3 separate regions of the Homo sapiens genome follow, and all the other regions are linked to region 3. Evidence: promoter capture Hi-C in 16 types of primary human blood cells and fetal thymus (Javierre and others, 2016). All regions are on one chromosome and are shown on one strand. The core of a region is centred on a gene start or on the middle of the fragment in contact, and the rest is flanking DNA. Distances in the headings are between cores, read along the strand shown.

Evidence for each region. The method cuts DNA at HindIII sites, captures the fragments that hold promoters and counts their contacts. A CHiCAGO score of 5 or more calls a contact.
Region 1: a contact is called between a fragment that was not itself captured here and the fragment with the promoter of ZNF683 in region 3, in 12 of 17 cell types (naive B cells, non-activated CD4 T cells, M2 macrophages and 9 more). The highest score is 13.6, in naive B cells.
Region 2: a fragment that was not itself captured here is called in contact with the fragment with the promoter of ZNF683 in region 3 in 3 of 17 cell types (naive B cells, M2 macrophages and total B cells); the score reaches 7.1 in naive B cells.

What each region holds. Positions count from the first base shown.
Region 1 is chr1:26,279,591-26,283,205 of GRCh38, reverse strand. It overlaps SH3BGRL3 (SH3 domain binding glutamate rich protein like 3), which reads right to left and starts at 3,120. Exons shown (of 3, transcript NM_031286.4): 1 at 3,003-3,120; 2 at 2,274-2,441; 3 at 1,684-2,148. The coding sequence starts at 3,050. The coding sequence ends at 2,083. UBXN11 (UBX domain protein 11) reads left to right here. Exons shown (of 15, transcript NM_001389556.1): 13 at 269-342; 14 at 417-557; 15 at 637-924. The coding sequence ends at 907. RefSeq lists enhancers at 1,825-2,711, 2,712-3,599 and silencers at 2,839-3,288, 2,765-3,336. The HindIII fragment of the contact is 3,655 bases long and covers 1-3,515 here.
Region 2 is chr1:26,259,551-26,262,981 of GRCh38, reverse strand. It overlaps CEP85 (centrosomal protein 85), which reads right to left. Exons shown (of 14, transcript NM_001319944.2): 7 at 3,180-3,365. Among named protein-coding and RNA genes, the nearest start is that of SH3BGRL3, 19 kb to the left of the region's middle. The HindIII fragment of the contact is 3,615 bases long and covers 362-3,431 here.
Region 3 is chr1:26,371,032-26,374,252 of GRCh38, reverse strand. ZNF683 (zinc finger protein 683) reads left to right here and starts at 1,503. Exons shown (of 6, transcript NM_001114759.3): 1 at 1,503-1,584. The HindIII fragment of the contact is 11,410 bases long and covers 1-3,221 here.

The DNA of each region.
Region 1 (3,615 bases), core at 439-2,938, 91 kb after region 3:
GGGCTTCCAGCCTGATCATCGTCTGTGTGGGGTTCTGTCTCCATTAGACTGAAACGGGGGGTTACCTGGGGGGAACCATGGGGCTGCCTCCCAGAACCTTCTTCCCCTTCCATTGCCTCTCCTCTGGCCTTGGTTTATACAGAACACCCCCTCCCGCTTTGCTCACTGGTCTCATCTGTCCCTGGTCAAGGAAGTGTCCCTCTAAGGTTTGTGGGGATGACTCAAATGGGGCCTAGGGCTCTGTCCACCCTCCACTGATACCTTCCAGAACTGCTGCCCATTGCCTGCCCGGATCCAGGAGATTGTGGTGGAGACGCCCACCTTGGCCGCTGAGCGAGAGAGGTGAGGGCGGGATGAGGAGGTGAGGGCCTGGGGGCGTTGGGTCACCGCGTGCTGATGGCCTCTGGGCTGTGCAGGAGCCAGGAGTCACCCAACACGCCGGCACCCCCGCTCTCCATGCTGCGCATCAAGTCTGAGAATGGGGAACAGGCCTTCCTACTGATGATGCAGCCTGACAACACCATTGGGGACGTGCGAGCTCTGCTAGCGCAGGCCAGGTGGGTGCAGGGCAGGGCCAGGGCCACAGAGGGGCTCTGGTCCCACTGCCCAGCCTGATCTGCTCTGCCTGGTCCCCAGGGTCATGGATGCCTCTGCCTTTGAGATCTTCAGCACATTCCCGCCCACCCTCTACCAGGACGATACACTCACGCTGCAGGCTGCAGGCCTTGTGCCCAAAGCAGCACTGCTGCTGCGGGCACGCCGAGCCCCGAAGTCCAGCCTGAAATTCAGTCCTGGTCCCTGTCCCGGTCCCGGTCCCGGCCCCAGTCCCGGTCCCGGTCCCGGCCCCAGTCCCGGTCCCGGTCCCGGCCCCAGTCCCTGTCCTGGACCCAGTCCCAGCCCCCAATAAAGCACCCGCCCCCTCAACCCGCTGCTCCGCCAGGCTCTTGGGTGGGCCATCTCGCCAGGCACGTAGGAAAGGCCTGGGACCAGCTGGGCCAGGGAGGGGGCGGTGCCGACCCGCCCCTTGGTAACTCGAGCCCCGGCTGGCGGGCCTGGCTGCTGGGTCTTTGTCTTCTAGGTTCCTCTTTCTCCCAAGAAGGGCTAAGTGGATCCTGTGAAGGGAGGGATGCAGTGGGGGGAAGGAGCTGGCCCCAGCTGGGTTTACATTCTCAGCTGGGACAGCAGAGCCTCACTGTGTATGTGTGCAGCCAGCAGATACCTGTGCACAGGCACAGACCCACCAACTCGTGGGGACACTTCAACACCGCACAAAGCCATTTTGCCACTAGACCCATGCCCCCAAATTAGCAGAACTGCAGCTGGGTACCCACCTCCCATGATACACTCATTCTTAGCCATTGTGCTCCAACACAGGCGCATGGGATGGCCACACTCACTGACAGGCATGGAGATGTGCACTACACACCAAGGCACAAGCATGATATGGACACATGCATGTGAACTGGAGGGTGGCCCACCCAGACATCTCCAGAAACCACTGGTCCATACAGGTATTTGTGTGTCAGACATATCCAAACACATGCACTAACAAACACAGAGGTGACAGTCACAAGAGAACAGCTCAGCCACCCTTCCCACAGAGCAGTCTCAGCACAGTCACAACTACCAACCTTGCCCAGGGCAGGGACCCAGGAGGCCCAGGCCACAACCAACCAGACACAGTGCCAATGGAACAGGACATCATTTAATTGCCTCTAGGGTCCTCCTGGGAGAGGGACTGCGGGGCCTTTGGCAGAGCTCTGGCTGATGGAACCAACAGAGGTGCCCATCAGCCAGTGCCAGGCAGGATGGCGGCCCCAATGCTTGGCTGGGGGCAGCCAGCATTTGGGGCTGTTGCTTAAGACAATTTCTGAGACTAATGGGTAAGGAATGTTGCCTTTAGATGGAGGAGAGGGGACTACATTTAGAGAGGAGGGAGGAGAAGTGGCCTGCATTGGGGGAGGGACTCTAAGGTTAGGTTAGGAATGACAGGGAGTTGGTCAAAAGGTCCTTCATGGCCAGGTGAAGGCTGGGGGGAGTGTGGTGATGGAGTCCAGCAGGGGAACTCTGGACAGGCTTGACTCAAGCCAGCTTCAGGAACTCCTGCAGCGTGTTTTGTTCCACAGCCTCCACGAAGAGCTCATAGTCCTGGAGAAGGGGAGGCGAGGGGTGGTCACCTGAATGCAGGGGGCCCAAGTGCTTTGTGGCAGATATGACCCTGGCTAGAGTCCTCTTCCAACACTCCCCCCACCCCCCCGTCCCCCAGCCCATACCCCACAGTACTGGTCCCCGTTGACAATCTGGGGTGGGGTGGCCTTGGGGTTGCCTGCCAAGGCTCGCATCTCATCCCTCAGGGCGTTGTCCTGGGAGATGTCCACTAGCTGGTATTGGATGCGCTTCCCATCCAGGATTCGGGTCACCTCGCTCTGCTGGGACTTGATCTGGGGACAGAGGGTGGGTAGGGGTTAGTGGATAGGCTGGAGGATTTATGGGGGAAATGCTGGGCAGGGTGAGAGAGGCTGTGACCAGGAGCTTTTGTCCCCCCATTCCCCTCCACACTAGGGGAGGGTTCTGGCCTCTAGGAGTTGGGAGGATGAGTCAGGCTTGAGGTGGTGCAGGATGAAGAGAGGGATTATCAGCCACGGGGGAGGGGGTCAGAGTGAAGGGAAGTGGGATCAGGCTCAGGGTGGGGAGGGGAGGGGAGGGCAGGCTGCGGTCGTGGTCAGGGTCAGCCCGGTAGTGGGAGTGCAGAGAATGGGTGTGGGGTTGATGGGGGATGGGCACGGGAAGTTCATGCCGCGGCTGCAAAGGACCCAGGATGCCCGATGAAGACATTCAGGATGGGGCCTCGGGACCGGGTCCGGGAGACCGTGCCCAGCACCTCGCCGACGCACTCCCCCCACCCCGCCCCCGTCCTGGGGGTGGGTCCCGGGCGCTAGGGTCCAAAGCACCGGGATACAGCCCTGCGCTTTCCCCCAGCGCCAGTCCGGGCGCGCACTTACTTCGCGGGAGCCGGTGACCGACGTGCTGTAGACGCGCAGGCCGCTCATGCTGGGGGTAGACAGACGGGCCGGCGGGCAGAGGGCGGCGGTAGCGGCAGCTGCACTGCCGGGAGACGACGCCGCCGCCGTGCTCGGGAGCGGTTTCCTTCCTGCTCCGCCCGCCAAGTCATCGCGCTCGGGACCAATGGGCGGCGCGGGCAGGCGGGGTGGGACCTGCGCGACACCGCCCCGCACGCCAGAGGCCCCTTCCCTTCCCCCTCGGTTACCAGGCGCGCAACGGACCCGTCCCACGCAGGGCGCCCCTTCTGCGGCTGCCCTGATCGTCCTTTTCGGCCCTTCCCTGATCTGGAGCTCAGTGTGAGACTGGGGAGGGGCCTGGGTGGCAGGACAGGCCCGGGAGAGGGTCTGGCAGAAGCCTCCCTCTCCAGCCGCACACAGGTTTGGTGCATCCAACTCCCCAGCCACGAGAGCCGCTCTCTCCAGGAGGAGGTGCTCTAATAGCACAGGGAAGCTTGGGGCTTTGGAAGGTTTGAGCTGCTTTCAGACCCAAAGTTCTCTAAGAACCTTGCTCCAAGGGATCCCTCGCTCCACCACCCAACACGCACCACTAACC
Region 2 (3,431 bases), core at 920-3,419, 110 kb after region 3:
GTGAATCACCTGAGGCCAGGAGTTTAAGACCAGCCTGGCCAACATGGTGAAACCCCATCTCTAATAAAAGTACAAAATTTAGCCCAGTGTGGTGGCATGTGCCTATCATCCCAGCTACTTGGGAGGCTAAGTCACAAGAATGACTTGAGCCAGAGAGGTGGAAATTGAAGTGAGAAGATTCACTAGATTTTAGCCTTATATAGAATTCCTTCACATTTGAGCAACATGGATGAGGAGGAATAGTTTGCAAGCTTGGCCTTTATTTAAGAGTGTGTTGCAGGTGCCGTTTGATTTTTCTAAAATATTTTTAGCCCATGCTCCCCTTTGCTGCAAGAAGTAGGGAACTGCTCACTGACAAGCTTCTCTATCATCTGTGGTACCAGTGGATCATTCTTGATTTTATTTTCATTAGTGTCATTTCTTTGTCAGCGAGGACTTTTCCCCTTCCAACAGTCACATCCCCCGCCCCCCGCCTTTTTTTGTTTTGTTTTGTTTTTTTTGAGACAGACTCTCACTCACTCTGTTGCCCAGATTAGAGAGCAGTGGTGCTATCTCGGCTCACTGCAACATCTACCTCCTGGGTTCAAGCAACTCTCTTGCCCCAGCCTCTTAAGTAGCTGAGGTTACAGGAGCCCACCACCATACCCCGCTAATTTTTGCATTTTGTTTTTTTTTGAGACAGAGTCTTGCTCTGTTGCCAGGCTGGAAGTGCAGTGGTGTGATCTTGGCTCACTGCAACCTCCGCCTCCTGTGTTCAAGTGATTCTCCTGCCTCAGCCTCCCAAGTAGCTGGGACTATAGGCGTGCGCCACCACCCCCAGCTAATTTTTTGTATTTTTAGTAGAGATGGGGTTTCACCATGTTGGCCAGGATGTTCTTGATCTCCTGACCTTGTGATCTGCCCTCCTCAGCCTCCCAAAGTGTTGGGATTACAGGTGTAAGCCATCGTGCCTGGCCATTTTTGTATTTTTTTTAGTACAGAGAGGGTTTCACCATGTTGGCCAGACTGGTCTCGAACTCCTGACCTCAAGTGATTCGCCTGCCTTGGCCTCCCCATATGCTGGGATTACAGGTGTGAGCCACCATGCCTGGCCAGTAAAAGCAAAACTTATAATACCACCTGGGATTGTAAACTAGTCATTCAGACTGTATAACCATGCAGAAATAAAAATTGAAGAGCAACGTATTATATGGGCAACTTTTGCTCTGAGTAATAAACTTGATTTTAGGGAAAAAAAAAATTTTTTTTTTTTTTTAAGAGAGTCTCACTATGTTGTTCAGGCTTGTCTTAAACTCCTGAGCTCAAGCAATTCTCTTGCCACAGTCTCCCAAAGTGCTGGAATTATAGGTATGAGCCACTGAGTCTGGCCAGAACTACTAAATTTTTTATTTTTTCATTTGTTTTTAGAACTACTAGTTTTATTATAAATCTATTGGTATTTAATTACCTAACAGATATATAAATTATTATTTTTTTAAACTCACTAACCCAACTTTCTTTTATTTTTTTGAGATGGAGTTTCGCTCTTGTTGCCTAGGCTGGGGTGCAATGGAGCGATCTTGCCTCATTGCAACTTCCGCCTCCTGGGTTAAAGTGATTCTCCTGCTTCAGCCTCCTGAGTAGCTGGGATTATAGGCATGTGCCACCACGCCCAGCTAATTTTGTATTTTTAGTAGAGACAGGGTTTCTCCATGTTGGTCAGGCTGGTCTCGAACCCCTGACCTCAGGTGATCTGCCCACCTCAGCCTCCCAAAGTGCAGGGATTACAAGCATGAGCCACGGCGCCCAGCCTAACTCAACTTTAAATTTTCTTTTTTAACAAACCCTCTTAAGTCCTTCCAGTACCAACAACATCAGCATCACCTGGGAGCTTGTCAGAAATGCAGAATCCAGCTGGGTGCAGTGGGTCACATCTGTAATCCCAGCACTTTGGGAGGCTGAGGTGGGTGGATCACCTGAGGTCAGGAGTTCGAGACCAGCCTGGCCAACATGGTGAAACCCCATCTCCACTAAAATTACAAAAATTAGCTGGGTGTGGTAGCAGGCGCCTGTAATCCCAACTACTTGGGAGGCTGAAGCAGGAGAATCGCTTGAACCCAGGAGGCTGAGGTTGCAGTGAGCTGAGATTGCACCACTGCACTCCAGCCCAGATGCCAGAGCGAAATTCCATCTCAAAAAAAAAAAAAAGAAAGGCAGGATCTCAGGCTTCCTCCTAGAACTATGAATCTGATGTACATTTTTAACAAGATCCCCAAGTGATTCTGAAACAATGAAGTTTGAGAAGTATTGCTCTAGTTGTTTTAAGTGGTCTAGAACTTTAACATTACTAAACTGGTTCCCCAAAAACACATGCTTTAGAGCAAGCCGTGAATTGGGAGATACCAACAAAACCAAATAACTTTAAACCTAAGGCAATTCTAAGAGTACTGGCAAATATACACACCCAAACTAGCTGTGCACATGGAATTTTTTTTTTTTTTCCTGAGACGGAGTCTTGCTCTATCACCTAGGCTGGAGTGCAATGGCATGATGGCGTGATCCTGGTTCACTGCAACCTCTGTCTCCCGGGTTCAAGCTATTCTCCTGCTTCAGCCTCCCAAGTAGCTGAGATTACAGGCGCCAGCCACCACACCCAGCTAATTTTTGCATTTTTAGTAGAGACGGGGTTTCACCATGTTGGCCAGGCTGGTCTCGAACTCTGGACCTCAGGTGATCCACCCGTTTCAGCCTCCCAAAGTGCTGGGATTACAGGCGTGAGCCACCATGCCTGATGCACATGGAATTTTTCTCTACTTTTTAGGAAGGGTGAGAAACCAGACTGAATGATACAAATATACCACAGGTGTATTTTGCAACAGTGCCACCTGGTATGAGTACTCAGGTTGGTTTTCTACCCAGACCAGCTGGTGGTACATTGCACAGCACAACCTGGGACAGTGAGGGATCATACAACTTTCTCTGACTGTTGTGGTTTTGTGGAGATGAAGCAAAAATGAGGGAGGGAGGAGAGTTCCATTTCTAGCAAAAAGGAGATCTGTGACGATTCTGTGTGAGAAGCCAGTGGAGGATCTCACCCAATTGTCTCCTCTTAGTTCCAGGCCAGAAACAGCTTAGGCTTTAGAGTAGACAGCTGACTGCCAACTCCTTTGTGAACTAGGGCTATCAGCTACTCAGCTCACCCTTTCTTCCTGTTTCTTCACTTCCTCAGAATGCTTCTGCAACGCCACTTTGAGCGACTCTCTGATGAGCTGGACTTCAACTTCAGAAGCAGAGAGTTTCTTTTCAAGGTCAATCTTTTCTCTGCTCAAGGCTTCTGTCTTCTGTGCAAACTGTGCACGTAAGAAAGTGTTTTCTCGCTGCAATTCCTGCCAGAAAGATTCTCAATATGTAACTGTTCTCTACCCTTATAGTCTCATGTACTTTACTTATTC
Region 3 (3,221 bases), core at 254-2,753:
GAGGAAACTTCACTCGGTGCCCCTCACTTCCCTGTGATTCCCAGCAAGACAGCAGGGGAGGCGGGCTTGTGGCCTGGGGGTCTGAGAGGGCTCTTCCTTTTAGGGAGTAGAGTTTTGGTGAACTAAGCCCCTCCATTACGCTGAAGGATACTGAGGGGGCCACTGAGGAGTTGGGGGAAGGACTGGGAACAGCATGTGGGAAGAGAGAGCAAGAAAGAAAGAAATGAGGGGGTGGCTGTCGTAGTGGGGGAAGCTGACATGGCCAAGAGATGGCAGAGTCTGAGGTTTACCACTAAAGAGCTCTTGGCTACTTGTTGTGTGACTCTGGATGAGCTGCTAATAATAAAATCCACCACACAGGCTTATTGTGAAGACTAAATGAGATAAAGTTTATGAAGCCCCTAGCACAGTGCCAGACACAGCAAGAAAGCTGTTTGTAAAGGTGGCTATTTACTCTGTTCCTTGGACAATTCCAGCTGGAACCCTGTTACTTTATCTTCTATTCTGGGCATGTATAATGCAGAATTATCAGTTGTAAGCTACAAAAACCATTTCAGGAGGAGTTAAGCAGAAGGAATTTGTTTAAAAGATGTTAGAAAAGCTCGCAGGAGGTCTGAGAAGGCTGGAGAGCAAGGCTTGGAGAATAGGATGGATCAAGGGAGGCTGGAAGTAGACAGGACCATGGCCAAATATCACACCCCAGGACCAGCCCTGCACAGATTCTGCAGCCTCCCCTGAACCCCCTTCTTTCCTTCACTGCCCTGGAAGCCGGATGTGGTACCACAGCCTTTGTTGTAGAGAGGAGTTTCCACAGACCTGCCACCTCAGGACCAGTGGCTTTTTTTATTGTATTTTATTTTATTTTGAGATGGAGCCTCACTCTGTTGCCCAGCCTGGAGTGTAGCAGAGCCATCTCAGCTCACTGCAACCTCCGCCTCCCGGGTTCAAGCAATTCTCCTGCCTCAGTCTCCCAAGTAGCTGGAAATACAGGCACGTGCCACCACACTTGGCTAATTTTTGTATTTTTGTAGAGATGGGGTCCCACCATGTTGGCCAGGCTGGTCTTGAACTCCTGACCTCAAGTGATCTGCCCGCCTCGGCCTCCCAAAGTCCTGGGATTACAGGCGTGAGCCACTGCGCTCAGCCAGTGGCACTAGCTTCTGATCTGCTAGTCTACTGGGCTGCAGTGGAGATTAATGGCTGCTTGGGGCTTTTGTACCCTGGGCCAGACTCACGCACACCAGAATTTGTGTGAGGCCACAGGGGTTATGCCTCTTCTCATGCTCACAAGACTCGGCTTGGCAAGGAAATGTCCCAGGAGGTGGGCTAAGACAGACTCCCTCAGGTTCCCACATGGAGCAGCCTCTGCCTGCCAAGCCCTTCCTTGCTCTCGTCTCCCAGATCATCTGTCTTGTCAGCCTCCATGCCCTGTGATGTCACAGGCCTAAATGTGATGTCACTTTGTCCCACATGCCCTGGGGAGGTAGCACAAAGGGAGGACCATGGTCTTCTAACTGAGGAACCTGAGCAGATGCCTTGACCCAGACCAGAGACCCAAGCCAAGGAAAGCCCATGATCACCAGAGTAGGTTGGGAAGTGCGGATAGAGGGGAAGTAGTTTTTATTTTTTTCTAACAGAGAAGTTGTGCAAGGTGTTCTGAGAGTTGGGAGCAGAGTGTGATGCCAGGAGAGGGCAGAGCTGGCAGATGGAAGCCAAAGGTGTGCGGGTCACCCCTTCTGGGTGGGGACATCTGATCGACCTAGTCCATGTATGCCTGCATGAAGTGCTGGTGAGGGAGGTTGGAATTAAGTATTTGGCCATTTCGGCTTTTATAATGGGAGGTACCTTTTGCCTCCCTCAAGACTCATGTAGGGGAAAAGTTTCAGAGGCTGGGCGTCCAAAAAAACCTGACAGATGTCTACATGGAAAACCAAAATGAGTAGACAGAGGACCCTGTCCTTGAGATGCTCACAAACATGTTGGGATCAGTTATGTGGAGGATGAGTCACAGCCCTAGGGGCTGAGCTGGCAGAGAAACCCCAGGAACATGCCCCAGCCCATGGTGCACAGCCTGAGATGTCCCTGTATATTCTGGGACACCAGGGTGGCGTGGCTGGGGTGCAGATTGATGGCTGGTTGGGGCTTTTGCACCCTGGGCCAGACTCACGCACACCAGAATTTGTGTAAGGCCGCAGGGGTGATGCCTCTTCTCATGCTCACAAGAATAATGACATTGCTCAGGCTAAAAAGCCACTTTCTGGCCTATGAGGTCTCCCTTTTTGTATCTAGACATGTCTTTTCCTTATTTATTAACTTTTTTTAAGACAGGGTCTCGCTCTGTCACCCAGGCTGGAGTGCAGTGGCATGATCTCAGCTCACTGCAGTCTCGACCTCCCTGGCTCAAGTGATCCTCCCACCTCAGCCTCCTGAGTAGCTGGAACAACAGGCATGCGCTACCATGCCTGGCTAATTTTTGTATTTTTTGTAGAGATGGTGTTTCACCATGTTGCTCATGCTGGTCTTGAACTCCTGGGCTCAAGCAGTTGGCCCACCTCAGCCTCCCAAAGTGCTGGGATTACAGATGTGAGCCACCACACCTGGCCTAGTCATGCCTTACACCCATTTTGCTATGTCTATTTTTTTTTTTTTTAAAGAGACAGGGTCTTTCTCTGTCACCCAGGCTAGAGTGCAGTGGCAATATCCTAGTTCACTGCAGCCTTATATTCCTGGGCTCAAGTGATCCTCCTGCCTCAGCCTCCTGAGTAGCTGGGACCAGAGGTGCAAGTCACCATGCCCAGCTAAGTTTTGTATTTTTTGTAGAGATGAGGTCTTGCTTTGTTGCCCAGGCTGATCTCAAACTCCTGGGCTCAAGAGATGGGTCTGCCTTGGTCTCCTGAAGTGCTGGGATTACAGATGTGAGCCACTTCACCTGGCCATGTGCTTGAATTATCTTTTGCCTCTTGGGGCCTCTAGATTAGAGGATAGAACTTTCCAGGGTCAGGAGATCTGAGATGGGACTTGGAGGAGGAAAACGTGTTTGCTGTATCTCTGTGAGATCAGCTGCCTTCTCTGTCCTCTGTCTCATTCCATATCCTTCTATGTTGCCTGTTCTTGTCTCTGCCTGTTCCTGTCCCTACCTGTCACCATCACTGTCTCCCTGTCATCATCAATGCCTATCTTCATCTCAGCTTGGCTCCCCTCCACAGAAGGCTCCCCTGTTC